Regions from separate parts of the Homo sapiens genome. Here all the other regions are linked to region 2. Evidence: promoter capture Hi-C in 16 types of primary human blood cells and fetal thymus (Javierre and others, 2016). All regions are on one chromosome and are shown on one strand. Each heading gives the region's core, a stretch centred on a gene start or on the middle of the fragment in contact. The rest is flanking DNA. Distances are from core to core; before and after follow the strand shown. Region 1 has its middle 4.5 kb from the start of CD48. Region 2 holds the start of SLAMF6 (SLAM family member 6). Region 3 overlaps CD48 (CD48 molecule). Region 4 has its middle 19 kb from the start of SLAMF1. Region 5 overlaps LOC105371470 (a long non-coding RNA gene). Region 6 overlaps LOC105371466 (a long non-coding RNA gene). Region 7 overlaps SLAMF7 (SLAM family member 7).

Region 1 (3,771 bases), core at 181-2,680, 190 kb after region 2:
AGCTCAGCAAATACGGGTATGTTACAGCTTGTTCCTGCCACCTGCAGCTCAGCAAATGAGGGCACCTCACAGCTCTTGTTCAGTCCCACTGCCTGCAGCTCAGCAAATGGGGGCATGTCACAGCTCTTATTTAGTCTTGCTGCCTGCAGTTCAGTGAATGGGGGTGTGTCACAGCTCTCACTTGGTCCCAGTGCCCACAGCTCAGCAAATACGGGTATGTTACAGCTTGTTCCTGCCACCTGCAGCTCAGCAGGTCCTGGGTTCTTGTCCTGCAACCAAGAGGAATAAAGCATGCAGACAAAGGAGAGTGAGTAGGTCAGAGAATAATTTTATTGAGTGACAGAAGGAAAGCTCTCAGCAAAGAGGGGACCAGACAGTGGGTAGACCACTGTGTGAGAGGGGCCCCAAAACAGGTAGCCCTCTGTGAGGCTGAGTCTGGGGTTTTCATCGGCTCAGATTTGTCCATAGGCAGGCCTGGAAAAAGCACCATTCGATTAGCTAAAAGGTATCAAGGAAGTTCTCACTCTGGTTGTGGACTCTACCCAGAACTGGCAGCCCAGTTTTCAGGCTTTAAACTGTCTTTGTCTTGAAAGTCTAGTTTCACCAGGGACCCTTTTCTATCTGTCCAGGAATTTGTCTGTCTCCTGTCGCTATCACTTTGGGAGGCCGAGGAGGGCAGATTGCCTGAGCTCAGGAGTTTGAGAGCAGCCTGGGCAACATGGCAAAACCCCATCTCTACTAAAAGTAAAAATAAAAATAAATGTTAAAATACCTCCTTTGAATGTTGTTGTGAAAAGTTGAAGAAAGGAAAGAACTTTTATCTGAAGAATGTGAGTCCTTCAAATTATCAGAGAGACATTTAAATGAGACAGAAATCACATTTTACTTCCCCCTACTCCACCTTTGGGCTATGTATTCACCTCTTAAAACTACTTGCTATTGCTGCAAGTAACCATAAATTAATCTAATAATGCTGCACTGGACATATAACCCACACCTTACAGCTTAACAATATGTAACCAATCACTAATTAATGTTATTTCTGCAAACCAATGAGAATTCCAAAAAAAAAACTTTGTATCACTTTTTTTGCCTTTAAAAACCTGCTTGTAACAAAGGCTGAGCAGAGCTCAAAACCAATTTTACTTGGGTCTGAGTCTTCCAGGCAGCTGTCCTCCCTTTGGCTCAAGTAAAGTCTTCAAATCATATTTTGTGTTTCAGCCTCTTTCTTTTAGATTGACAAGTAAACAGCTCTATAATTCTCAACAGTCTGCTTAGATGTGAATTAATAGCCATGGGATATAGGCTGATGTTAAAACAAAGGATGAAATATAAACTTAAGCCAAGGAATCTTCCTCCTTTTGCATGGTAACAGCGGGCACTGAAGTACTATGGGTGCCCATTCTGAGGTTCAGGACTAGCTAGTTAGGCTTCTGCATAGATTCAAAAACAAGTCTGAGAGAAGTGACCAATAAAGGCTCAAAAGCCCTCTCCCTGCCCTAAGTGAATCAGCTGTTCTTGCACCAAAGCCCTGGTTGCAGAAATCCCTGAAGTTTGGGCATACCCAGAGGTGGGGCTGCAAAGACCCTAGAAGATGAAGTACAGGTCAACAATCCTCATGATGTGAATTAAAATACACACTCTTCTCAGTATCTAATCTGGTGGGCACTTGACCTACTGCTTGACTTTGACAAAGTGATAGTAATGACAGAAGCTATTATTTTCTGTGTATCTACTAAGTCAAGTACTTGCCAGGACCTTTGCCTATATTATCTCATTTAATCCTCCAACATTTTACAGAAGGATCAGGTTTCAAAAACAAAAACAACAACAAAACAACAAAATAATAATCCTCCAACATTCACATGAGGATATTTATAAACACTATTCTTATTTTACGGAAGAGATAACTGAGGTTCAGACAAGTCAAATGGCTTGCCCAAGGGCATTTTGCTAATTAGAACCAGAATCAAAATTCAAATCTACGTCTGTCTGATGCTCCAGCTGGCATGCCTAACTACTATGCACACAGACTCTGGGGTTATCAAGGTTCTGGGCATCAGGGGATCTGCAATATGCCTACAAGAAATGGAGAACACATAGGAAACACTATGAGAGTCATGCCAATGTGAAATTAGGAACTCAGAGAATATAGGGCCTTGAGTAGCCCAAAAATGTTCAAGGAGGGGTATGGTATTGAGCTGAGGATGGAAGACAGACCCCTGGTAGGTTAAGCAGGGCCTTGAATGCCACAACAGGCACAGCTTTGCTAGTGCCTGGAGAGTGAGAGAAAGTGAAGTCATTCCAATAAATTTTCCCCAGAAACAATGAGAGCAAAGATAGGAACAGGGTCGATCTCCCAGAAGATAGAATTGATGAGAACAGGTGGCTAATGTTACAGTAGGTAGTCAGGCAGACGTGAGCAGGGCAGGAGAGAGCCTCCCACACCACCAGCAATGACAGGCGACCATCAGGTGATGGTCAGACAATTGTTAATGTGCCTCTCTAAAATAATAATTGGTCGCAGCCAGCACCAGGGCATGGTGGCTCATGCCTACAATCCCAACACTTCGGGAGGCCAAGGCAGATGGATTGCTTAAGAACAGGAGTTTCAGACTAGCCTGACCAACATGGTGAAACCCCGTCTCTGCTAAAAATACAAAAACTAGCCAGACGTGATGGTGAGCACTTGTAATCCCAGCTATTCAAGAGGCTGAAGCATCAGAATCACTTGAACCCAGGAGGCAGAGGTTGCAGTGAGCCAAGATCATGCCACTGCACTCCAGCCTGGGCAACAGAGAGAGACTCTGTCTCAAAGAAAAAAGAAAGAAGAGAAGAAGAACGCCTCAGGTGAGCATGCATACAACTCCAGTGAACACACTGAATGTGTGGCCCCTCCCAAGTACTAGCAGGCCACTGCGCATGCAGACAGCCCACCCCAAGGAAAGAATCAGGGAGAAGGGACACTAACGTACTTTGGTTCCATGACTCAGATTTGTTCTCTGGTTGTTAGAGATCTCTACACCTCGCCTTCTTTGGCTGGAGTCATTCAACCCACATATGTGGTTTTCTTCTCCCTTTTGCTCTCCTGCTTACTAACCAACCCCTAAAACAATTCCTCTCTGCCGTCCTGGACAGGAGGCTTGCAAGAGTGATAGGGCTAAAGCCTGAGACTGTGCAATTTCTGGGGTTTCCTCTGCTTTTTCAACTAAAATTGGCTCTTTCCCCAAAACCTGCGATGCCTATTCTCCTGCTTTCTCTGGATGTATTCTGAAATGGCCTTGCGCACCCACTGAACCGTCCACCTCGGGGGCAATTTGCCTTTTCTCTGTTTTCATTTTTCATGCCATGTAACTTCTTAGGCACACACTCCCAGTTGCTCTTGTGCCCGTGGCTCTTGCTGTGGCCCATGGCTCTTGCTGTGTTTGTGTAGCAGCAAAGACATGGGCTCCCTTCTGGATATCCCTTGAGATTTACATTTGTTCTTACCCTACCAGCTCAGATGACCTCCAACCCTTTCCCTGTCTGCTAGCACATTGCCAGGACAGATACTAATGGGAACCTCAGCTCTGCCAATTCCTTATGACTTATCATATGCTTTTTATCCCCATTATGTCCCAGGGCCAAATTTTCTGGTGCCTTCTGAAGCAGTTTGTCCACCTGCGTAGGACCTCATTCTGTGGTCCTTTAAGAACCCTGCCTATGTGATTTTTTTGAGTTAGCACCCCTTTGGGAGGAGGGAAAATTCTTCCTTTGCCATTTGTGAGTTTT
Region 2 (4,233 bases), core at 524-3,023:
AGGGTGGTAAAAATGAAGCAAAAACTCAAGATTCTGCTCCTAGATCAGGAAGTGGCTCTTGAATGAAGGAAAGAATTCTCTCTCTTTCTGCATTTTATATATATTTCCCAAAGTTCTGTTCTCATTCCAGTTTTCTCCTCAGCTTAACATATCTCTATGCCATTGATTTTTAAGTCTCTAGCCTCAGCTCTACCCCTAGTCCTAAGTTCCCAGGATCCTCCACGTAACTTCCTCATGTATAGCACACTGACATCCTAAAATCAGTAGGTCCAAAATTGAACTCACCTTCCTCCTGTGGCTGCTCTCCACCTTCCAATTTTGTCACTTTCTTTGGCTATCCTGTCTGAAATTTCACTGCCGTCTTTACCATATTTCATCTCTCCCTTTCCTTCTTGATTTATTTCTTCCTACCCAATACACTATTTTACTTGTTTATCTTTTTTTACAGTTTGTCTCCTGCTAAAATGTTAACTCCATGAGGGCAGGAATTTTTGCTTGCTTTGTTCATGATGTATTCATGCAAACTAGAAGAGTGCCAAGCATTCAGTAGGTGCTCAATGAATATTTATTCCTTTCTCATTCCAATTACCAATTACTCTACTTAACTCCATATTGATGGGATCTCTTGCTTCAGTCTCTTCTTTCTCTTATGCTGCTGCCACACTTGTTGAACTGTTATTTTTTCTCATAACTATTACAAGAGCTTGTCGCATGCTGGCTAATGAAATTTGGGCAAATTATTTAAATTAAGTTCACCTCAGTTCTTCATTTTAAAATGGAGATATTAATAGTATAAATTCATAGAATTCTCATGAGACTCATAACGTGTGTACAGCACCTGGCACAATACTTGAAATACAATAAGTGCTCAGTGAATGCTTCCTACTTTTATCTGCTACCCTGGGCTAGCTCTGGACTAGATTTCCATTGGTCTCCTGGACTATCTCTGCCTGAATGCTACACTTTGTCTCCCGTGGACCACTTGTAGTTCCCCAAATGTGATATGAATCTTCATCTTCTCCATATAATGGACAGCAGGAAACAAGAAGCCAGCTGGATCAGTTCATTCTTTTCTCACTGCCATATATAATGCATTGCTGGACTAGCTAGCCCTAATTTGCACTAAAGGAGGGGAGAGATGGAAACCTTTTTTTTTGCAATGAGCAAAAGGTGAGAGGGTTATTTTTGGTGTGTTTGGTTGGGCCCAGAAAATTTGGCTCAACTGAATAATAGGTTTTTAATAATTTAGATGAGGATAGTGAGGTTCAGGAAGGATAAGTAACCTCCCTGAGGTTCACAGTACGATAGTAGATACATTGGTATGAGGGCCCATTTTCTTGGTCTTGGTACTCTTTATAACACAAGATGCTGGTCATAAACCACAAACAGTCTTGTCTTCAAAAGCTTATTTCCTCTGCCCCAGCAAATAACTTTCTTACATGCAGACACAATTGAAATTGTTCACCGACAACCATCTCAGGCTTATCGCATCCAAAGTTGAGAGGAGGTAGTAGTATATCAGGTAACACTGCCAGCGTCCCCTTTCCCGCCCCAATCCCTTGGCAGAGAGCCAGACAACTGTATACAGACGATTTAGGTTGAGCAAGCTGCACAAAACCAGGGAGTCACTCAGTGACTACACCGATCTGGATTGACATTTACCTGGGCCAAAGCAGAAGACAAACAGGAGCGATTGGAACAGCCACAACATGCTTTCCGCGGTGAAGACTGGTGCTTGAGACCTTGAGGCAGTCAATGTTTTTGCCCTTCTGTCATAAACTGAAAATACTTCTGAGACTTCCCCTTCCTCTTAGAGGCGTGGTGACAACTTCTTCCCCTGCACTAAAAATCCTAATTTGTAACTGTGTTAATTTTTTGTTTACTTTTTTCTGAGCTAAGTGCACAAATTTTTTTTTTTTTTGGAAAAGAAGATAAAGTCCTTTATTGCATCTTTCATAAACTTATATGTAAAAGTCTGTAAGGAATTTCCTAAAATCTACTAGAACAAATAAATGAGTTCAGCAAGGTGAAAAGATACAAAATCAAAATATAAAATTCAATTGCAATTGTATATACTAGCTATGAGTAATCCAAAAATAAAATTCAAAAAACAATTCCACTCTAATTACATTAGAAAAAAATATTTAAGTATAAAGCTAAGAAAAAGCCAAAAGAAAACTGATTTTTTAAAATTATACTTTAAGTTCTAGGGTACATGTGCACAATGTGCAGGTTTGTTACATATGTATACATATGCCATGTTGGTGTGCTGCACCTATTAACTTGTCATCTACATTAGATATTTCTCCTAATGCTATCCCTCCCCTTGCCCCCCACCCCGTGACATACCCCAGTGTATGATGTTCCCCTACCTGTGTCCATGTGTTCTCATTGTTCAGTTCCCACCTATGAGTGAGAACATGCGTTGTTTGGCTTTCTGTTCTTGTGTTAGTTTGCTGAGAATGATGGTTTCCAGCTTCATCCATGTCCCTGCAAAGGACATGAACTCATCCTTTTTTATGGCTGCATGGTATTCCATGGTATATATATGCCACATTTTCTTTATCCAGTGTATCATTGATGGGCATTTGGGTTGGTTCCAAGTCTTTGCTATTGTGAACAGTGCTGCAATAAACATAAGTGTGCATGTGTCTTTATAGCAGCATGATTTATAATCCTTTGGGTATATAACCAGTAATGGGATTGCTGGGTCAAATGGTATTTCTAGTTCTAGATCCTTGAGGAATCGCCACACTGTATTCCACAATGGTTGAACTAGTTTACACTCCCACCAACAGTGTGAAAACATTCCCATTTCTCTACATCCTCTCCAGCATCTGTTGTTTCCTGATTTTTTAATGATTGCCATTCTAACTGGCATGAGATGGTATCTCATTGTAGTTTTGATTTGCATTTCTCTAATGACCAGTGATGATGAGCTTTTTTCATATGTTTCTTGGCCGCATAAATGTCTTCTTTTGAGAAGTGTCTTCATATCCTTTGCCCACTTTTTGTTGGGGTTTTTTTTTTTTTCTTGTAAATTTGTTTGAGTTCTTTGTAGATTCTGGATATTAGCCTTTTGTCAAATGGATAGACTGCAAAAATTTTCTCCCATTCTGTAGGTTCCCTGTTCACTCTGATGATAGTTTCTTTTGCTGTGCAGAAGCTCTTTAGTTTAATTAGGTCCCATTTGTCAATTTTGGCTTTTGTTGCCATTGATTTTGATGTTTTAGTATTGAAGTCTTTGCCCATGCCTTTGTCCTGAATGGTATTGCCTAGGTTTTCTTCTGGGGTTTTTGTGGTTTTAGGTCTAACATTTAAGTCTTTAATCCATCTTGAGTTAATTTTTGTGTAAGGTATAAGGAAGGGAACCAGTTTCAGTTTTCTGCATAATTGCTAGCCAGTTTTCCCAACACCATTTATTAAATAGGGAATCCTTTCCCCATTGCTTGTTTTTGTTAGGTTTGTCAAAGATCAGATGGTTGTAGATGTGTGATGTTATTTCTGAGGCCTCTGTTCTGCTCCATTGGTCTATATATCTGTTTTGGTACCAGTACCATGCTGTTTTGGTTACTGCAGCCTTGTAGTATAGTTTGAAGTCAGTTAGCGTGCTGCCTCCAGCTTTGTTCTTTTGGCTTACAATTGTCTTGGCTATATGGGCTCGTTTTTGGTTCTGTATGAAATTTAAAGTAGTTTTTTCTAATTCTGTGAAGAAAGTCAATAGTAGTTTGATGGAAATAGCATTGAACCTATAAATTACTTTGGGCAATATGGCCATTTTCATGATATTGATTCTTCCTATCTATGAGCATGGAATGGTTTTCCATTTGTTTGTGTACTTTCTTATTTCCTTGAGCAGTGGTTTGTAGTTCTCCTTGAAGAGGTCCTTCACATCCCTTGTAAGTTGTATTCCTAGGTATTATATTCTCTTTGTAGCAATTGTGAATGGCAGTTCACTCACGACTTGGCTCTCTGTTTGTCTATTTTTGGTGTATAGGAATGCTTGTGATTTTTGCACATTGATTTTGTATCCTGAGACTGCTGAAGCTGCTTATCAGCTTAAGGAGATTTTGGGCTAAGACAATGGAGTTTTCTAAATATACAATCATGTCATCTGCAAACAGAGACTATTTGATTTCCTCTCTTCTTATCTGAATACCCTTTACTTCTTTCTCTTGCCTGATTGCCCTGGTCAGAACTTTCAATATTATGTTGAATAGGAGTGGTGAGAGA
Region 3 (3,784 bases), core at 1-2,500, 160 kb after region 2:
TACTTTGACTCTAATAACATCCTGAAAGGTAAGTAGAATTATTCTCATAATATGATGAAGAACCCAAGGCTCTCAAGGGAACACCACTCTTGGATTATTTAGCCCCGCTCTTCTACAAGAATTGCATACCCCAACCCCTGGAGCCCCTCCCCATATCCATGTTTCTGCCCTATAATCTGATCCTTTCACCAAAAATGTTTAGATCAGGTACACACACCTGAACTAAATTGGGACTATCAGTTTCTCTCTCTTTAAATTGCCCTGAGAATTGAAACTCAGAGGAGCAAAAGTCTAAGTTTTGAGAGATAACATGTGTAAAATGGCAGGAATCCAAATCCATAGGCACAGTCCACAGATTCCTGAAGCTAGGGGTTCTGGCCCGAACCTGGTTTTCAATCTTCTCCCCTTAAGCCCTTCCTAGCTCTTTTAAACTCTTTGAATTGCTTTAAATAGCCCTAGTTTCTTAAACTAAATTCTCCTTTTTTGGTAAAGGTACATTGAATTAGTTTCTGTTATTTGCTATCAAAAGAATCTTACCTAATATGGGCACAGAGATGTGAAGATCTTTTTTCAAGGCTGCACAGCTAGTGAGCAACTGACCAGTTTTGAACCCAAGTCTGTCTGGCTCCAGGTATAATGCCTGAGTCCTTATTCCATATACACTGGTTAGACTGGAGCTATGAGTGGAAGTTTTTTTGTCCTGCCCATTATGAAAGTTGAAAAATTCTCCTGATAACTCCTGCCCCATTCTTTATATTAATACATTCTCTTTTTTCTTAAGTCCAATGAAGCCTAATTTCGGAGATATAATCAAGATGAGCTGAGCTGATTTAGGTTGATCACAGGACAAAATGAAGGAAATAGGAAAAATCTCTAGTTTTCCTTCTCTTCAAAGCTTAGACTCACTAACTTCAGAAGAGGTGTTAAATGTCCTAAGATTGTTAATTTGGATATCTGTTGACCTAGGCTCACTCCCAAATAGAATTGGATCAAGGAAAAATGAATCAAACCTGTCCTGAGGTTTTTCTCTCCTCCTCCCCGAGAGTGCCCCATGCCTCCCAGGAAGCCCTACAGTGGTCCATCTGGGGCCACTGGAGTGGGGATTTGCTCTTTGGCTCCCCTGACTCACCAAGCACTTGCAGCTTGATCTTCCATTCTTGCTCATTCCCAGTCTTTTTCAACACCCTCATGATGTAGGTGCTGTTGTCCTCTTTCTGGACCTTAGAGATGTACAGTGCGCCACTCTGAGGATCAAGTCTGACCCTGCCTTTAAATTTGGATTCAAAGTACTTAGATTTTCTGGAATCCCATTCTACAATCTTCTGGTCGAAAGTATAAAACCAGGTTAGTTGTTTGTAGTTCTCAGGCAGGCTCTCAGAGATGTTCAGAGTCACGTTGCTGCCGGAGACCACGGTCATATGTACCAAGTGACCTGCCAATGAGATTCAGAGTGAGACCTGCGCTAGAGGAGGCAGTGTTGCTGACAGGCCCAGGGTATAGCCTGGGCTGGTGGAACAGGTGAGAAGGAAGGGATTTCTGCTTAGGAGCAGTGAGTATGGTTTTCACTGGAGGTCCAGGTCTCCTGCTTAGGAACTCAAGAAAAGTTGAAGCTTGAAAAGTGGGCATGGGGGAAGGGGATGCTGCTTATAATTAATCTAGTACTGTCCCCAGAAAATGAAAGAATTGAGTAAGGCCAACTGAGGTTGGGCCTGGCTCTCTCCCTTACTCTCATACCAGTAGACTTTCAAATAAACTGATGACAAGTCATATCTCTGCTCTGGTCTTGTGTTTCCTGTCTATTCTCATTTCAGTAAGCATGTTGTTAGTCCCTAGAGGCATAGACATAAAAAGTACATGATTCTGTTTAAAAATATTTAATATACCAATGTGGGAGGACAAACACACAAACAAATAATCCTAATATATTATCTTGATGACTATAATAAAGGTAACGTGGGGACCAAGGGAAAGCTTCCCCTTCACCTTCTGAAGGTTTGCCAAAAATCACTGACAAGAGGCAGATTAAGGAGGAAAGGCATACAGATCAATTTAACGTGTAAGCAGAGCCTTCCTAATGAAGAGCCAAAGATACAGGGCAAATTGTCCATTTTTATGCTTAGGTTCAACAAAGTATGGACAGTCATGGAGAAATATGATTGGACAAAAAGGGTATGATTGAATGCCAATAGACTGACTGCGGGAAACCCAGCAAGGCCTATCTTTCTAGATTCTGCTTGGCCTTTCTGTGCCAGATTCTTTCCTTCCTCCCGTGTGTGGGTCAGGCCCTCTCTAGAATGGGGGTCTTATGATTCACAATCAAACAAGATAGGTCAGATAATTTCTTTATAGCTATTTTTTTTTTACAGAGAAAGGCTCAAGGAAAGTTAGGGTGGTATATTTAAATTTTATGGCTGGCTTTGGGGAAAAGGGGTTTTGGCTTCTATGGCCCACCTTGGGAAAGAGGGATTCCAGTGTCTATGGCTAGCCTAGGGGAGAATGGGACTGATAGACAGGAGGGCAGGAGAAGGTCAGAGAAAAACTTTCACTTCTGAGGCTGCTTCTGAGGCCATCATTTTAGGGCATCATTTCCTGACTCCTGACAATAAACACAGTGTGCTATGGGAATATATTCCTATCCGGAGGGTAGGGATAGAAAATGGAGAAAATACTAAGAAAAATCTCTTTGGAGGAGATGACCACTAGGGTAAGCCAAAGGGTGATTAAAAGCTAATATTTGTTAAGAACTATCTGTCAGGCACTATTTGAGACACTTGGGATACATCAATGAACTAAGCAGCTATCGGGGAATCTGCCCTGATATTCACATAGGTTCTTTTCTATTTTTCCTAAGCATTGGCCAGCTTGAGAAATAAAGGGACAGAGTACAAAAGAGAGAAATTTTAAAGCTGAGCATCTGGGGGAGACATCACATGTCGGTAGGTTCCGTGATGCCCCACAAGCTACAAAAACCAGCAAGTTTTTATTAGAGATTTTCAAAAGGGGAGGGAGTGTGCAAATAGGTGTGGGTGACAGACATCAAGTACTTAACGGGGTATTAGAATACCATAAGGCAAGAGGAGGCAGGGCGAGATCACAGGACCACAGGACCGAGGTGAAATTAAAATTGCTAATGAAGTTTCGGGCACCATTGTCATTGATAACATCTTATCAGGAGACAGGGTTTTGAGATCAACCAGTCTGACCAAAATTTATTAGGCAGGAGTTTTCTCTTCCTAATAAGCCTGGGAGTGCTATGGGAGACTGGAGTCTATTTCACCTCTGCAGTTTCGACCATAAGAGACAGGAGCACCTGGGGGTGCTGTTTATAAGCCTATACCTCCAGGCGCGTATTCTCTTTCTCAGGGATGTTCCATGCTGAGAAAAAGAACTCAGCGATATTTCTCCCATTTGCTTTTGAAAGAAGAGAAATATGGCTCTGTTCTGCCTGGCTCACCGGTGGTCAGAGTTTAAGGTTATCTCTCTAGTTTCCTAAACATTGCTGTTATCTTGTTCTTTTTTCAAGGTGCCCAGATTTCATATTGTTTAAACACACGTGTTCTATAATTTGTGCAGTTAATGCAATTATCACATGGTCCTGAGGTGACATACATCCTCCTTGGCTGACAGGATTAAGAGATTAAAGTAAAGACAGGCATAGGAAATCACAAGGGTATTGACTGGGGAAGTGATAAGTGTCCATGAAATCTTTACAATTTATGTTTAGAGATTGCAGTAAAGACAGGCATAAGAAATTATGAAAGTATTAATTTGGGGAACTAATAAA
Region 4 (3,898 bases), core at 822-3,321, 140 kb after region 2:
TAATTAAACACATTCTTGGAAAGCCATTCATTCTTTGATGGAAGCCACCAAAAGTCTTAAGCAGCTGAGTGACCTGTTCATATTTTTGCTTTAGAAAGATTACCTTGCCTGGGCGTGGTGGGATTACACACCTGTAATCCCAGCACTTTGGGAGGCTGAGGTGGGCAGATCACCTGAGGTCAGGAGTTTGAGACCAGCCTGACCAATATGATGAAGCCCCATCTCTACTAAAAATACAAAAATTAGCCAGGCCTGGTAGCATGTGCTTGTAATCCCACTACTTGGGAGCCTGAGATGGGAGAATCACTTGAACCTGGGAGGCGGAGGTTGCAGTAAGCCAAGATTGCACCATTGCACTCCAGCCTGGGGCAACAAGAGTGAAAATCTGTCAAAAAAAAAAAAAAAAAAAAAAAAAGAAAGAAAAGAAAAGATTACTTTGGCCTTAGTGTGAGAGAAATTTAGGTAGACCTACAGGCTAGGAACAGATTTGAAGAAATGATGGGTCTTAACTGGAGAAGTAGCAATGAGGTGGGAGAGAAGGAGATCCATTGGAGAGTTATCTCATAGGTGGATTTTTCAGGGTTTGGTGACTTATTGAATGTGGGCTGTGAAGGAGAGTGGCCTATATACTATGGCCTTTACACTTCCAGTTCAGTTTCCCAGTAGATGGCAATGCCATTCTCTAAGAAAGGAAGTATAAGAGGTGGAGATAACTTAGGGGCAAAATTGAGAGCAAGGGGTATAAGATTATTTGTTGGCTTGGGATATGGTCAGTTTAAATGTTTACGGTTCATGCATATGGAGATTTCCAGGGGCTATTTGAAAACACAGAGCTGACTTTGAGAGGAGAAGTATAATCTGAAGGAAAGCAAACAAATATAGAAGTCATATTTTCAACTCCTTCATTTCACCCCAAGAAAGCTAATACTTAGAGACTAAAACTTCTAAGGGACTTACCATATGGCTAGTTTTTGAAAAGCCGTAACCAGAAACCAAATCTCTTGGGTTTAGGTCAATCCACCCATATCCTGATTGAGTTTCATTATGCTCTATTTACCTTCATGGTTCCCCAATCTAACAATGCCTGGCATACAGCAAGTGCTAAAAATGTTTGTGGAATGAATATACTGATTGTGGCCTTTTTTGGTGGGGGTAGAACTGGCCCCACACCTTCACATCATCACTGGAATTATGCCTCAGAAGCATCTTGGAAGTCAGCAGACCTAGGGAAGTCCTACTTAGCCATGAAATTTGCATTTCCCCAGGTACCTCCCAACCCCTCTCCACTTCCTCTGAGAGCAAAACCTCCGTTGTTCATGTCACACCCATGGGCAGCCTTTGTGCTCAGTACACAGACCTGATTGAGAAGATTGATAAAAGCAAAATAGAAAGAAGCCGTGATCTGGGTCATATGAGTTATACAACCATTTCCCTCTTATTTTACACTTGGGGAAACTTAAGCTAAGAGATCTTGTCTTAATTCATTAAAATTAGAGTTGCCAGCCCAGAAGAGAGGAAGGAGAAGTTTGGGACAGAGGAAGGCAACTAATACTTATTGAGCACTTACTGTATGGCAGACTTTATGTGGAATGATTTATTGAGGTTATCTCATTTAATCCTGATTTTAAAAATCATCCACATACGGAAACCGAGGTTTAGAAAGTTTACTTTTCCTGAGGTTCAGAAGCTGGTAAATGACGGTTCTGGAACTCAAACTCAAGGCTGTCTGGCTCCAAAGGTCATGCTCCTTCCCCTATACCACACAACCTCCCAGAAGCTTGAAATGTGGTTCTGGGTACTAGGTATAAGCTTGAAGACCAACCAAACATGCTCATTCCAGTGCTCTCTCTAGGAGCCAACAAGCCCTCCAACATTGCCCCCCTAGAAGGTCCTGCAAAATTGAGTTGTCTAGGGTTTGACAGAGTCCAGAAGACATTTTCGAACATAAGAAGGGCAATGGGTCAAGCCCCAGGGAGTACCCAGTAGTATCAACAAAGAAAGGAGAATGTGTATTTGACTTCCAGCCTCAGCCCTGCTGGTAACTTGCCAGACGGCCTTGGCCTGGCCACTTCCTTCCTGTCCTCCACCAAGATTACAGAAAATTAGGAAATGCAAATTTTATGGGCTTCCCTGCTGACGATTTCTAAGTCTTCTTTGTAGTAATCATTCCTATCACAAAGAGGGTGGGAAACGGTGATTATGGACCAGGGAGAGAGTCCTATTCCTAAGAAGTGGTTCTTGGACTTTGGAGAGGCAACAATTGGTTTGAGTCTTAACAAATGAGTGGGAGTTTGTTAGGTCAACGAGGAGTGGGAGGGGATTCCAGGAAGTGTAAAAGCTTGAGCAAAGGCATTGAGTAAATTCGGGGAACTGCTAGCAGTTCAGGAAGGTTGCAGCATTCAGTGCAAAGGAGGGGCCAAACTAGAAATTGGACAGGAGAAAATCACAGAAACCAAGCCACATAAGGATCAGTAGAACCCTGTAGGCTCTCCAACGAGCCTATCCTTGAAGGATTTAAGCATGAAAATGTTGTCATTATTAAACCTAGGCTTTAAAGAGGTCCTTCTGCTCTGTGTTGCTGTCCTCTGCCAGAGATAGCAAGACTGACAGAGGCTGTGCTCCTGTAGCCTGGGAGCCAGAATGGAGAGACACATTGGGCAGAGCCCGGCAGAGTCACAGGAACTTGTAGTCCCCATCTGTTTATTATTCATGGAAGCTTTCTCCTTTTCTTGATTGGATCAACAGAAAAATAAACTGTCGTCTTTGGCAGATGATTCAATGGGAATTCAAGGGTTTCAATGGGAATTCAAGGTTGAAAATGATAATGTACTCTGAGAACTCACAGGTCTATAAAAGGAGAGGCCTATACAAGGAAAGAAGAGGATGTGGTAAATGCAGAACAGACCCTCAGCATCTTGAAGGACCATCAAGGGGAAATAAGTATTGCAGACCTTTCATTAATCTGTGTAGTTAACTTTTTATTTGAAAATAATGTCAAAAGAGCTGCAAGAAAAAATTATTATTAATAATAGTACAAAGAACACGCTTATAAATATCCTGCAGGGAGGGGTCTACAAGTTGGCTGTGACTGTGAATACCTCTCTGTAATGTTTTGCCCATTTTGCTTTAATATTAGCTAGTTCTCTCTCTCTCTCTCTTTCTGTCTCTATTTGAACTATTATAGGGTAGGTTGCATATGGCATGGCTCTTTATCTTAAATACATCAGTGTAAAGAATTAGGATAATTTCTGACACAACTACAATATAGTTATCACTTAAGTAAATTTTACATTGATAACAATATTCTTGTCTAACCTACTGTTTGCATTTCAATTTTGTCGGTTGACCCTTTGTAACCATAATTTTCCCTCCAGGTCAGGATCCAGTCCAGTATTAGGTATTGCATTTAGTTGTTGTATCTCTTTAGTACCCTTCAACTGTAACATTTCCACAGCTATATCTTCTCCTTTATGACATGGATATATTTGAAGAATGCAGTCTTCCCACCCTTTCCCTTTTTTTTTTTTTTTCTTGAGGTGGAGTCTTGCTCTGTCACCCAGGCTGGAGTGCAGTGGTACAATCTCGGCTCACTGCAATCTCCACCTCCCGGGTTCAAACGATTCTTCTGCCTCAGCCTCCTGAGTAGCTGGCATGCACCACCACACCCAGCTAATTTTTTTGTATTTGTATTTTTAGTAGAGATGGGGTTTCACCATGTTGGTCAGGCTGGTCTCAAACTCCTGACCTCATGATCCGCCTGCCTCAGCCTCCCAAAGTCCTGGGATTACAGCCTCTCTTTTTTAATAGCAAATTCCTCACTTGGGGTTTTTTGGTATTTCCTTATGATTAGATTCACATTATGCATTCCCAGACTAGGTACTACACAAGTGACATTGTA
Region 5 (4,078 bases), core at 780-3,279, 250 kb after region 2:
GATTTTATTTAATTTTCTCCTGCTCCCTGTATTATCTCTTTTCTTCCAAGTTTCTTTTTTCCCCCTGATTCATTTGGTTTGGAGATTGTCTTTCATGTTAGAGGCCTTCCCCAAATATCTTGTGATCCTGTCTGCCCTCTTATATTTCCAAATAAGTCATTAACTACTTGATTGGAAGCTTTGTGTGTAATGGGTGATATTTGCCAATCCTCTCTGTGAATGAACTAGGAAATGAGCTGATCAACTGAGAGTAAGAAAAAGAAAGAGAAGCTCAAAGTTTCCCACCTAAATTTTGCTTTTGGTTCAGTTATTTGTATATGGTTCAAATTCTAGATTAACGTATCTAGCACTGCAGAGCAGCTTTCTGTCAAAACAAAACATAAATGTTTCTTTTATTTTAACTTTTTCTTTTGCTAACTGTTGAGCATTCTAGGAAACTTTTAGGATAAAGATTTAATTTGCTGCTTCTCTCCATCAAAAGCAGAAAGAGAAAACAGACAATGGTGTAGGCCCCAGATCCTTGTAAAACCTCCTAATAGTCTTCAAATCTTAAGAAAAAATATTCTCAACTCCAATTCATTCTTTCATTCATTCAGTAAATGTTGAAGTATCTATCATAAGCCAAACACTATTACCCTTTGGGTTTTTAGTTTTGAAAAAATATATATAGAAATAGTTCTTATCCTCATAGAGCTGAATATCTTGTGAGGGAAATAAACAATAAATAAGTAAACCAACAAATAAGTGTGCCAGGCATGGTGGTCTATGCCTGTAATCTCCGCACTTTGGGAGGCCAAGGTGAGAAGATCACTTGAGGCCAGGAGTTTGAGACCAGCCTGAGCAACAGAGTTAGATCCTGTCTCTATGCAAAATAAAAAGAAGAAAAGAAAATATTTGATGGCTTAAATGGAATTCCCCATTTAGAGATTACCTGGTGGTTTCCGACTGGTTAAGTCATTCTGAGTTGGTTTTCTGTTTGCTTGTGTAGAATCCCAGATTGCTAGGGCCGTCTCAGCCTAACAGACTCCAGATTATTTTTTTAAACATACATTGATTATGAATGAGAGGAAAGATCTACTTAAGTATAGTGGCCAAAGGCTGCTCCAAGGAGATGACATTCAAGCTGAAGCTGGGCTGAATCTAGTTATTTAAACATTAACAAAAACTTAATAATATATATGTGTGACAATAACAATGTTTTTATGTTCCATTCAATTTTTCTTAAATAAATAAGCTCCTTTTTCTTTCTGAACACTTAAAAACACACTTCAATAAAACATAAACAGATTATTTTAAACAGAAGACACATAGCAGTTTCCTGATAATTTTGAACTCAGTTTGTAAATGAAATAGGGTTTATGCCTTAATCAGTGTCAATGTCCTTCTCTCACACCAGGAAATGCTGGCCTCAGGCAGCACTCCACATGCGAACTTCTTTAACTCTGTGTCTCACAGGATGGCCGCCATCTCGTACTTCTCTTCTTGGTTTCTCCCCATGTCCAGGTGAAATCTATTCAATCCCCAAAACTCCCAGAATCAAAAAAGGAAGAAATTCTTTCCTCAGGGAGTGGGGTACAAAGGAGGCTGAATGAACAATGACCACAAGTTAGTAATTGGGAGAAAAGGAAGACAGGAAGACAGAGAAACAGGGAAAATGATTTTGAAGGAAGACAAGTCAGAGGCATGGCTGGGCTGGAGGCCCCTTCAGGTAGCCGAATGTGGGGGCGGAACTGAAATGTCCATCAGGCCCCGTAGAGAGAGGGAGACTGTGAACGTCTACAGCCAATTATCATGTCTGCATGTGTCCCACAACACCCAGCGCAGATGCTTTTTAAATACTTGTCAGACCCACATTTTTTGACACCTATTACTCGTTGTGTATTAGAGATGCAGAGAACAGTAAGAATGTGTTTTTCTCACAGTTCAGTGGAGAGCACAGACACAAAAAGCCCATAATAGAACACATTCAATGTTGTCTTTGTACAACAAAATACAGAACTCTCCCAAAGTCATTTCCCAGGGCTGACTGGAAGATGAAATGGCCAAAAAGCTAGTCAGGTGCAGGTTGTGATGATTGTAACAGTGATTTACATGAGGGGTAGAAATTTATCTGGACCTCTTCTTCATTGTATCTACAATGGTTAGAACAGCACAGGGTTCATAAAAGATACTCAGTAAATACCTGTGGCTTAAATGAATGAATAATTGTTTAAATACCTTAGATAGTGGGCAGACATCATAGGGCTTTTTTTTAGTTTTTAAAATATTTACTATTTTTGATTGACAAATCACAGCAGCATGCATTTACGGTGAACAATGTGATTTTTGATCATGTATACAATGTGGCATGATTAAATCAAATTAATTAACATATCTTCACTCACCTACCATTTTTTACGGTGAGACATTTGAAATGTACTCCCTCAGCTATTTTGAACTGTATAATACATTATTATTGACCATGGTCGCCTTCTGTGCAATAGATCTCAAAACCTATTCCTCCTGTCTGTCTGAAACTATTACCGTTTAATCAACACTTCCACATTCCCTCTCATGTCCTAAAGTTTTAAGCTAAAAAGTAACACAAGCATTTCTTAATTTAGAATTAGACCTCTGGCAGTGCAATCTGGAAGATGATTGGGAAGGAAAAGATTAAGGAAGGAAGGAGTGGTTAGGAGTTTGTGGAGTGGTCCAGGCAAGGAATAAAGGGAAAGGGTGAGCAATGGCAGGATGTGGTGGGGAAGAGGAGGGGCCCTAAATGACACTGGCATTTCTGCCTTTGGCAACAGAAAGAAAACAAGGGGAGTGGAGAAAGGCCTGAGGCACCAGTCTTGAGAAGGATCCTGATCCAAGGGAAGATGTCCCAGGAGAGAGCAGCCCAGGTGACAAAGGAGAGCAGGTTAATGTGTCAAGTGCTGGGAGAAGCCAAGGATAACAGAATTTAAAAGTGGCCAATGAATTTATCCATCAGGATGTAGCTGGAGGGGCAAATCAGCAGCAAGTGGGTGGAGAATGAATGATTGAAGATCTGGAGTCAGGAAAGACAGCTGTTTCAGAAGGCAACTGAGAAGAGGAGAGACAGGATATGTTTGAACTAACACAGTTTCCAGCCATGACCTATGACTAAGCCAAATGGGACCAGGGACACCATGAGAGGCCTCCCCTTGCCTGCCAGAAGAGCACAGCCTCAAGTGTCTCTCAGAGCACCTCTAGGCAAGGGGAGGTGGTAAGTCCTCTCTGAGAACACAGGCAAGGGGTTTCGAAGCTCTCCTCAGTGGGCTGTGCAGGGTTGAGTGTGGGTGAGGCAGCACTTTTCCTCAGGGAGTCCCAGGAATGAGCTGAATGCCTCGCTGAGTCTGCAGCAGGTCAGGCACAGAGGACCGAGGCCAACAGAGAAAAGGTGGACCGAAGCGGGCCCTGGGATGGTGGCTCCAGAGCCCTTGTCTCCTGCCACCCCAGAGACACTTCCTGCTGCCAACTAATCTGGCTCCTCCCTTTCTTCAATTGCTCCTGGATCCAAGAGGAAGAGAGGCAGGGATGCTAAGAAACTAGACCAAGGCTTGCCAGGAAGAAGAGAGTCAGAGAAGGAAAAACATTACCTGAGCAAAGGGGTCTGGTAAGGACAGAGCTGGAGCTCTGGCTGGTGGGATTCCTGGCAGTGCAGTGATAGCTCTCACTTTCCCCAGATATCCAGGGGACACTGAGAGTGGTCCCCCCATGGGACACAACTGCCCCATGACTAGGAGGCTCCCAGCTGTTCTGCACATTCTCTCCAGCCTGTTCCAGGGAGCAGGCCAGGGTGATGAAGCAGGTCCCATCCTTCATGATCTGGGAGCTGGCAAAGATGTTCAACTCCTACAGCATCTCTGAACCAAGAAGGGAAAGCTTGAGCTATGAGAAGGCTCTGGTCTGGCCAAACAGGGTAGAGGAAAGCTCAGTTTCAAATGTGGGGCCCTCCAGCCCTCCTTACCATAGACAAGCAGGGTGAAATCCCTGGTGATAATGATTGAGGAAGTATGCAGAGTTACCCAGGCTTATAGGCTTATAGTCCTGCAGCCTCAGGGGGCTGATCTGAAGA
Region 6 (3,939 bases), core at 1,175-3,674, 150 kb before region 2:
CAGATTTTAATTTGAAGAAAAATTTTGCAACACCTGGAGCTGTCCAGCAATGGCACTGACTGCCTCAAGAGGAGAACTCCAAATAGAGAAGCTGGAGAGTCAACCACACGCAGAGAAATCATAGAGCACATTGCTGCCTCAGATGGAACACTGGCTAGGTTCATTAGAAGATCCTCTCCAAACTTAAGGTCATACGAGAAGGCTGAAGGCAAACAGCAGGAGGGAAATGCAGAGACAACTTTCAGTCCCTGAAATATTTTCTTTTTTCTTTTTATCTTTTTGAGACAGAGTCTTGCTCTATTGCCCAGGCTGGAGTGCAGTGGCGGGATCTTGGCCCACTGCAACATCCACCTCCCCATTCAAGCCATTCTCGTGGTTCAGCCTCCTGAGTAGCTGGGACTACAGGCGCCCGCTGTCATGCCCGGCTAATTTTTGTGTTTTTAGTAGAGATGGGTTTTCGCCATGTTGGTCAGACTGGTCTCTAACTCCTGGCCTGAAGTGATCCTGCTGCCTTGGCCTCCTAAAATACTGGGATTACAGGCATGAATCACCATGCCCAGCTATGGGTTTTCATCTTTGATGAACAAAGAATGACATAAGCAGCATGAAGGGCTTGAGTTAGACCTAGGGAGGAGCTTCCATACAGGAGGACTTGACATCTTCCCCTTCCCATGTGAGTTAAATGACATGTGCTCTGCCCAGAGCCTGGCAAAAGGGAAGGCTGAACTGAGATCAGGGAGAACTTCAGGACTCCAAAGGGCCAGAGTTGGACGGGAACACAGAAATCACTGAATCCAACAACTTTATTTCAAAGGCAGGTAAACTACTGTCCAGACAGGTGACGTGACTCACCCATGATGATGGCCTGGGATTAGAAGCCAAGTCTTCCATTCCTGGCCCTGAGAGCTTTGTGCTTCTCTGTGCTCAGCAGCCACAGTCCTCTGGGCTCCCTGCCTCCCTCTCTTGTCTCTTTGCCTGGGCTGGAGAGCAGAAGGGCTTAGGGGGCCCCTCCCCTCAGGGATCCCTGAGGGCCTGGAGGTGGTGAGAGGGGGAAGCTGCAGCTGTTCTACTGCTAGCTCCGAATTTCTTCAGATAATCAATTGGCCTCGCTGCCGCTGTCGCTCTTGTTGCTCTTCTCACTCTGGGAAGGACAGGAGAAGGAGGTGGAGAGTGGGAAGAGGAGGGAGCAGGGGACCAGGCACTGGGGGAGGAGGGAGAGGGCAGGGAGATGGAAGTCCCTGGGCTGAGGGGAAAGTGAAAGCTTTGGGGCTAGCAGATAGGGAGGATGGGGAAAAGGGATTGTTAGAAGAGGATCTGCTCTGCATCCCTCATTCCACATCCCTCTAAACCCAACTCGTGGGTGGTGGGGTGGGGGAGGGGCAGTTAGGAGGACCCCAGAATGGGACTCTTGCACTTCACCCCTGCTTCCTTACTCCCCTTGCCAAGTATCCCATGCATGGCCATAGCTCCCCCAGCTGTCCATGCCCTCTTCCAGTCCTAGTGACCACAGGTGCCTGACCCTCCAGTCCTGTCTTCATCAACGCCCTGTCCTGTAACTCAGCAAACCCATCACCAGTGACAGAGCAGAAGTCAAGGCCCCAGGGGCTGGGTGGGGGTTGCCTAAAATCTCTCTCTCTCTCTCTCTCTCTCTCTCTCTCACACACACACACACACACACGCGCACACACACACACTGTCATAGGCTGCCAGGCATATGGCCTCTTTGTGCCCACACAATGGAGGCCCTGTCTGTGCCCTTTCCCAAGTCTGGGCACAGTGTGGAGGGTGCTCCGCTTCCTCATTCCACCCACCTCCCTTCCCTCTCCACCCCCAGTGCAGGCCCTGTCTTCTTTGCCTTTGCTTCTTCCTCTTTCTGGAAAGCCCTTTCTACCACCCAGTTCCTTTATCTTTCTGCTTTCTTCTTGTGTTCTTTCCTGAGCTTTTGACCTCTCATTGGATGAGGATTATGGGCAGAAGAAAGAGGCTCACAGTGCTGGGATGTCAGCGCAGGGAGGAGAAGGGAGCAAGCAGAGATGAGCCTGAAAGGCTGAGAGGGAGTGGAAGAAGGGAGGCAGTGGTGGCAGTGCAGCAACACTGTGCTAGAGGGGAGAAAGCCCACACCCGGCAGCCAGAGGTCCCGTGTCCCTGCTCTGTCTCCACCTTTCCCCTTTGTGCCACAGTGAGCAAACCGCATGCCCTCCCTGAGCAACAGCTTTTTCATATGGAAAGCAGGAAAGACAACAAGACCCACCGGGGTGTGATGAGGATTAAATGAGATCATCGTGAAAGTGTTCAACACCGGAAACGCTCATCAGATGCTATCTCAGGGGCAGTAAGTAGCAGGGTCAACTGTACTGTCATACAGTTTGTGCACTTTACAAAGCACCAGGCTAAGGGCAGTGCAGGGGCCTGACACCCAACCCCACTTCTACTAGACCAGCTGTGCACCAGGATGCAAGCATCCCCTGAGAGGTGGCCCTGGAACTGAGCCCCTCATGTGGGTTCCTGAGCATTGGTCAGGAGTCCAGATGAAAACTCCGAAGTCCTGACCACCTTGGGAACCAAGACAGAATGGAAAGGGACAAGAGGCTAAGGGGAATGTCTCTCCCTGAGGGGGAAATTCCTGAGCTTAGTCTTCTCTGAGCAAATAGACAATCCATGAGATCTACTAAACTAAGGATGGAGAAACTGCAGCTGAGGAGAAGAAGGGGGCTGAAGAAGCAGAAAAAAAAGAGGGAGACATGGATCGAGGGTGTGATCAGAGCAATGTGTTGGTCTGAGGACCCTTTTCTGGTTCCCTCGTCCTCCATTCCCTCCCTTCAGCAAGTTGAAGGCTGATTTGATTATTGCTTGTTGAACACTGTCCCCTGCTGGCTACTAGCAGAAACATTTTCCCTCTTCCCTATCCCTAGCTAGGAGCTGCTGAGAGCCTGAAAAAGAGAAGAAATGACCTGACTGGGGACAAAGGACGAAGGAATTGCAATTCTGCAATCTGGAATTCTCTACTTGTCAGAGATTTCTGGAAGGTGAAGGAGGCTTGAAGGCTGACTAGGGGTAAACAGAGTTTAGAATTCATAGGTGGTTCATTTACATATATTATGGCCTATAATTTTCAGATTGATTTTTTTCTGGTCTGTGTCTGTTTCATGTATTGTGTGTCTGTGTTATGTGTGTGTTCTGTATCTGGGCGTGCTTACCTGATTCTGTGGTTTTTGAACACGTGTATATCTGTGTACTTTTTTGTGTGTGTGCTCTTTTTAATATAGGAGTCTGAGTGACAGCTGGCAGGTATGGAGCAAGGAGAGGGAGCTGTCGAATTTCCTCTTTCCTAGAAGCCCGTTCTCCCCTTGAAGTTTTACCTTTGTCTCCCAGCTCCATGAGCTATAACCTATGGCTATTTATAGGTTACAGGTTTTGTTCTGGCTCCTGCCCCTCTTTGGACATCCCAAGCTCAGAGCCTTGATTCGCTCTAACCTGGGACTCTTGGGCCTCCCAAGCAGGGTCTCCAGTGTGGTTCCCAAGTGAGAATCTCTACTGTCTATGTCCCTTTTATCCTTTCTAGCATTAAACTCCAGCCTCCTTCTTTTATAAGCTTGTAGCTACCTCTTTCATTGGTTGATTTCAATTTATTCAGTGCAGCATGCCTTTATGGAATAGCCAATGTATACCGGGCACTGTTCTGGATTCTGAAATACAGGATCAGGCCCTCCCCACCACCTACTTGGGAGGGAGTATGGGAGACAGGCATGTAAACATATCAGTTTCCCAACAGTGAGAGGCATCTGCAAGGAAGCGAGTGATTACCTGAGAGAGGGTGTTGGTGAGGAAGGCAGCCGGTAAACTCTGAGCTGGGTTTTGAAGACCATGAGATACGTACAGTGAATTCTGTGGTGTGCTCCACTCACTTCTCCAGCTGTGGAAGTGTTGACTCACAGCTGA
Region 7 (4,353 bases), core at 1,428-3,927, 230 kb after region 2:
TCGCTTGAACCTGGGAGGTGGAGGTTGCAGTGAGCTGAGATGGCACCACTGCACTCCGGCCTAGGCAACGAGAGCAAAACTCCAATACAAACAAACAAACAAACACCTGTGCTAGGTCAGTCTGGCACGTAAGATGAACATCCCTACCAATACAGAGCTCACCATCTCTTATACTTAAGTGAAAAACATGGGGAAGGGGAAAGGGGAATGGCTGCTTTTGATATGTTCCCTGACACATATCTTGAATGGAGACCTCCCTACCAAGTGATGAAAGTGTTGAAAAACTTAATAACAAATGCTTGTTGGGCAAGAATGGGATTGAGGATTATCTTCTCTCAGAAAGGCATTGTGAAGGAATTGAGCCAGATCTCTCTCCCTACTGCAAAACCCTATTGTAGTAAAAAAGTCTTCTTTACTATCTTAATAAAACAGATATTGTGAGATTCACATACAAAAAGATGCATTATTTTGCTATTTGCAATAGTGAAATTCTGGAAACTGCCAAAGAAACTGACCACCACAGGTGAAGGTCTGTTCATACATAGACATTAAGAATTATGGGTTAGGCCGGGAGCAGTGGCTCACGCCTGTAATCCCAGCACTTTGGGAGGCCGAGGCAGGTGGATTACTTGAGGTCAGGAGTTCAAGAACAGCCTGGCCAACATGATGAAACCCCGTCTCTACTAAAAATACAAAAAATATTAGCCGGGCATGGTGGTGAGCCCCTGTAATCCCAGCTTCTTGGGAGGCAGAGGGAGGAGAATTGCTTGAACCCAGGACGGGGAGGTTGCAGTGAGCCAAGATCGCGCCACTGCACTCCAGCCTAGGCGACAGAGCAAGACTCCATCTCAAAAAAAGAATTATGGGTTATACTCAGCATCATGAAATATACCTGTGTAACCTACACATGTAGCTTCTGAATCAAAAATAAAATTAAAAATAACAAATTTTTAGCATGTGCCTGTGGTCCCAGCTACTTGGGAGGCTGAGGCAGGAGGATCTCTTGAACCCGGGAGGTGGAGGTTGCAGTGAGCCGAGATCGCACCACTGCACTCCAGCCTGGATGATAGAGTGAGATTCTGTCTCAAAAAAAAAAAAAAATTGTTTAAAAAAAACTATGGGTTGGCCAGGAGTGGTGGCTCATGTCGGTAATCCCAGCACTTTGGGAGGCTGAAGTAGGAGGATCACTTGACCTCAGGAGTTCAAGACCACCCTAGGCAACTTAGCAAAGCCCCATCTCTACAAAAAAATACAAAAATTAGCCAGGCATGGTGGTGCATGCCTGTAGTCCCAGCTACTCAGGAAGGAGCTGAAGAGGGAGGGTCGCTTGAGCCTGGTAGGTTGAGGCTGCAGTGAGCTATAATTGTGCTACTGCACTCCAGCCTGGGCAACAGAGTGAGACTCTGACTCACAAAACAACAACAACACAACAACTATGGGTTTTCAAGTTAGAAAATGTTATGACATCACAAATATAAAAAGTAGAATGCAAATTTAATGTGCTATATGATTACAGCTGTGTTTTAGAAAAAATCTCTACAGGGAAAAATTTGGAAGAAAAAACATCAAAATAGTAACACCAGTTGTTTAGGGAGGGTGAAAGCTTAGGTGGCTTGGTTTTTTCCTATTTTCATTCATTTTCTGAATATTCCTCAATGAGAAAGTATGTATTGCATAATAGAGTAGAGGAAATTTTAAATAGGTGCTCAGTGAGAAAAACGAGGCACTACTCACTACGTGGGGTTGAGGGGAAAGTCTGAGACCCTCATGGTAAGGGTGTGGGGGAGGATGGAAAGACCTCCTCGAGTGAGAATGGGTGGGGAGAAAGGAGAAACCCTCCACATAATGACAGAGGAGAAGATGACTTTCCCTCAGAGAGGGCTGCTGGAGGCTGAGGGGAGCTTCACAGTGTGTGAAGACAGAGGCGTGGAGAGGGGGATGCTGGGACTGAGGATGCATCTGTTCTGCCTTCCCCTCTCTCCTCAGAACCCATTCAGATGATAAATAATTAGGGTTAATCATACTTTGGGGTTTTTTAAACCAGTGACTGAAACAGGACCTAGGGAGACCAATAGATCTGGTCTCTGGACACTCAATAAATTCTGTCCCAAAGCTAGTTGCAGAAAGAAGCTTCCCCTCATGAGTTCAACCAGTAGGCAAAGGAAACCACCAGCTCTTCAGGGTGAGAAGTCACACCACCTCATAGCCCCATTACATGCAGCCTCCAGAACTGTGTGGTTTGCAACTTGTGAGGTGCAAATAACAAATTCGTAAACATTGAAACCTTGGTGGAAAGTAAAGAAGGTATCTGTACCATTTCAGTAAGGCTTTCACTCATTCATTTGATCATGTATGCATTCATTCATTTATTCATTCAGCAGTACTTATTGAGCACCAGTAAGTGCTGGACATTATGCTGAACTCAGGGAATACAGCAGTGGGCCACAACAGAGGTCTCTGCCCTCAGGGTGCTTACATTCTAATGACAGAGGCCAACACTCAAATATCCTTTAAATAACATGGTTGCAGTGATGACTGCTATGAAAGAGAGGTGTGTGGAGCCAAGAATGGCAAATTTTCCTGTGGTCAGAGACAGTATCTCCAAAGTGATGAAGACTGAGCTGAGATCGGAAGATGAGTAGGAGCTACTTACAAGAAGTGGGAAGGGAAAATAAAACCCTTCTAGCCAGAGGTGCAAAGGCCTTGTGGTGAGAGGACCTAAAAGAACGAAAGTCAGTGTGGCCAGCAGAGAGAGTTGCACTTTTAAAATTTCATTAGTTGCAGTATGGGAAACAGATTGTAGGGGGTCAAGACTGGATGTAGGCAAACTGAGTCAGAAGGCTCTTACCGTTATCCAGGAGAGAGGTGATGGTAGGTTGGACAAGCATAGTAGGATGCAGAGAGAGGGAAGGATGCTCTCAAGAGGTATCTAAGGGATAAGGAGGTTCCTGCTTTCAGTACTGTCTTGGGAATGTGTGCTGATCTGGAAAAGGAGGTGGGAAGATGGGCCTTTGCTTTTGATAGCCTCTTGGGACTAGAAGGACAAAGTTTGGAGTCTGGGGCTACCAAGGTTAGAGAACTGGTAAATCCCTCATCTTTTTGACTTGGGACCCCAAAAGACTTACCCTAGGAGACTTATCCTTCTTGTAAACAAGAAGTACACCAGTTTTAATTCATCTATGGGGCCAAGAAAATCTCAAAACTGGTATTAGATTAAAGAGATCCAAGCTTACGAGTGCCCACAAGTACCTTACAGAAGCAAACAAAGACCATCACTAAAAGAAAATAACATTCTTAGGCCTCACAATTTTCCTACAAATAATTTTTCATAAGCAATGTTCATCATATGTTCAGAGATATCCAGGCCCATGAGGAGGATCCAGGCCCATGGGGATCATCCTCCTCCATGAGGAGACCCATGAGCAAGACCCTCCTGGTGGGGACAGCCTATCACAGACTGCAGCCCAGGATGCAGCCCGGCCCACCTCCCTCTCATTTCATCCCAAGAAGATGGAAGGAGGAACTTCCAGCCTCCTCAGTTCATGTACTTGTAGACAGACTTTAAAGATGTTTGGAGTTCTGACTATAGTCCTAAGCATACTCTTTATTGCAATCTGTCAAGAACATAGCCAGCAACAGGGAAGAGTTGATAAACCATAACATGATCATTTATAATATTTAATGTTTAGTACAGTCACAATTGCCAATCATTGTTCTAAATAATACATATATATATGTGTGCATGTATATACATATGTACATTTATTTAATCTTCATAACAAACATAACCATTTTATAGATGAGGTAGTTGAGACCAAGATTGTCTTTTGTCTAATTGGGTTTTGTGGGTTGTTTTGTTTTGTTTTGTTTTGTTTTGTTTTGTTCGGCTCATATGTATTACTGCTCTAGGCAGTATTAATTAATTGATTAATTTATTTAAAATTTATTATTTTAAAATAAATGCTGGTACTGCTTGTCTTTACTAATTATAAAAGTTATTTTTTCCTGCAATTAAAACTTATTATGCGTCTACAATGTGCTCCCCATACTTCTAAGAGCTCACAATCAAGTGGGAGACAGGGATATCAACAGACATTACAAGTTAAAATGGTAGGTAAGAAAATAAAGGCATATAAGACATATAGGGGGTTGTATTACTCATGGTTTTCCTGAGAAATAGAACCAATAGATTATTTGTAAATATATATAAAAGGAGACTTATTATAGGAATTGGCTCACGCATTAGGAAGGCCAAGAGGTCTCATGATCTTCTGTCTGCGGCTGGAGAACCAAGAAAGCCTGAGGAGTAATTCAGTTCATGACTTGGAAGGCCTGAGAATTGGGGAGCCAAAG

The links. Contacts are between HindIII fragments. The CHiCAGO score rates a contact against its expected background, and 5 or more counts as called.
Region 1: a contact is called between a fragment that was not itself captured here and the fragment with the promoter of SLAMF6 in region 2, in 1 of 17 cell types (activated CD4 T cells). The highest score is 5.1, in activated CD4 T cells.
Region 3: a fragment that was not itself captured here is called in contact with the fragment with the promoter of SLAMF6 in region 2 in 3 of 17 cell types (non-activated CD4 T cells, activated CD4 T cells and total CD8 T cells); the score reaches 6.7 in non-activated CD4 T cells.
Region 4: a contact is called between a fragment that was not itself captured here and the fragment with the promoter of SLAMF6 in region 2, in 5 of 17 cell types (non-activated CD4 T cells, activated CD4 T cells, fetal thymus and 2 more). The highest score is 7.7, in non-activated CD4 T cells.
Region 5: a contact is called between a fragment that was not itself captured here and the fragment with the promoter of SLAMF6 in region 2, in 1 of 17 cell types (non-activated CD4 T cells). The highest score is 6.2, in non-activated CD4 T cells.
Region 6: a contact is called between a fragment that was not itself captured here and the fragment with the promoter of SLAMF6 in region 2, in 2 of 17 cell types (total CD8 T cells and naive B cells). The highest score is 6.0, in total CD8 T cells.
Region 7: a fragment that was not itself captured here is called in contact with the fragment with the promoter of SLAMF6 in region 2 in 1 of 17 cell types (naive CD8 T cells); the score reaches 5.7 in naive CD8 T cells.

What each region holds. Positions count from the first base shown.
Region 1 is chr1:160,714,444-160,718,214 of GRCh38, forward strand. No RefSeq gene overlaps it. Among named protein-coding and RNA genes, the nearest start is that of CD48, 4.5 kb to the left of the region's middle. The HindIII fragment of the contact is 5,074 bases long and covers 1-3,771 here.
Region 2 is chr1:160,521,482-160,525,714 of GRCh38, forward strand. SLAMF6 (SLAM family member 6) reads right to left here and starts at 1,774. Exons shown (of 8, transcript NM_001184714.2): 1 at 1,663-1,774. The coding sequence starts at 1,711. RefSeq lists an enhancer at 1,559-1,608. The HindIII fragment of the contact is 3,138 bases long and covers 1,403-4,233 here.
Region 3 is chr1:160,683,758-160,687,541 of GRCh38, forward strand. It overlaps CD48 (CD48 molecule), which reads right to left. Exons shown (of 4, transcript NM_001778.4): 2 at 1,130-1,432. It overlaps LOC124904439 (endogenous retrovirus group K member 18 Env polyprotein), which reads left to right. Exons shown (of 1, transcript XM_047438433.1): 1 at 1-3,784. Among named protein-coding and RNA genes, the nearest start is that of CD48, 26 kb to the right of the region's middle. The HindIII fragment of the contact is 715 bases long and covers 894-1,608 here.
Region 4 is chr1:160,663,629-160,667,526 of GRCh38, forward strand. No RefSeq gene overlaps it. Among named protein-coding and RNA genes, the nearest start is that of SLAMF1, 19 kb to the left of the region's middle. RefSeq lists enhancers at 1,793-1,852, 1,866-2,427. The HindIII fragment of the contact is 529 bases long and covers 1,808-2,336 here.
Region 5 is chr1:160,772,349-160,776,426 of GRCh38, forward strand. LOC105371470 (a long non-coding RNA gene) reads right to left here. Exons shown (of 3, transcript NR_188636.1): 2 at 3,971-4,078; 3 at 362-3,866. Among named protein-coding and RNA genes, the nearest start is that of LY9, 22 kb to the right of the region's middle. The HindIII fragment of the contact is 3,707 bases long and covers 177-3,883 here.
Region 6 is chr1:160,373,837-160,377,775 of GRCh38, forward strand. It overlaps LOC105371466 (a long non-coding RNA gene), which reads right to left. Exons shown (of 4, transcript XR_007066686.1): 4 at 3,579-3,939. Among named protein-coding and RNA genes, the nearest start is that of NHLH1, 8.7 kb to the left of the region's middle. RefSeq lists an enhancer at 2,326-2,375. The HindIII fragment of the contact is 2,331 bases long and covers 1,260-3,590 here.
Region 7 is chr1:160,754,365-160,758,717 of GRCh38, forward strand. SLAMF7 (SLAM family member 7) reads left to right here. Exons shown (of 7, transcript NM_021181.5): 7 at 1-457. Among named protein-coding and RNA genes, the nearest start is that of SLAMF7, 17 kb to the left of the region's middle. RefSeq lists an enhancer at 1,128-1,177 and a silencer at 2,728-2,797. The HindIII fragment of the contact is 1,098 bases long and covers 2,129-3,226 here.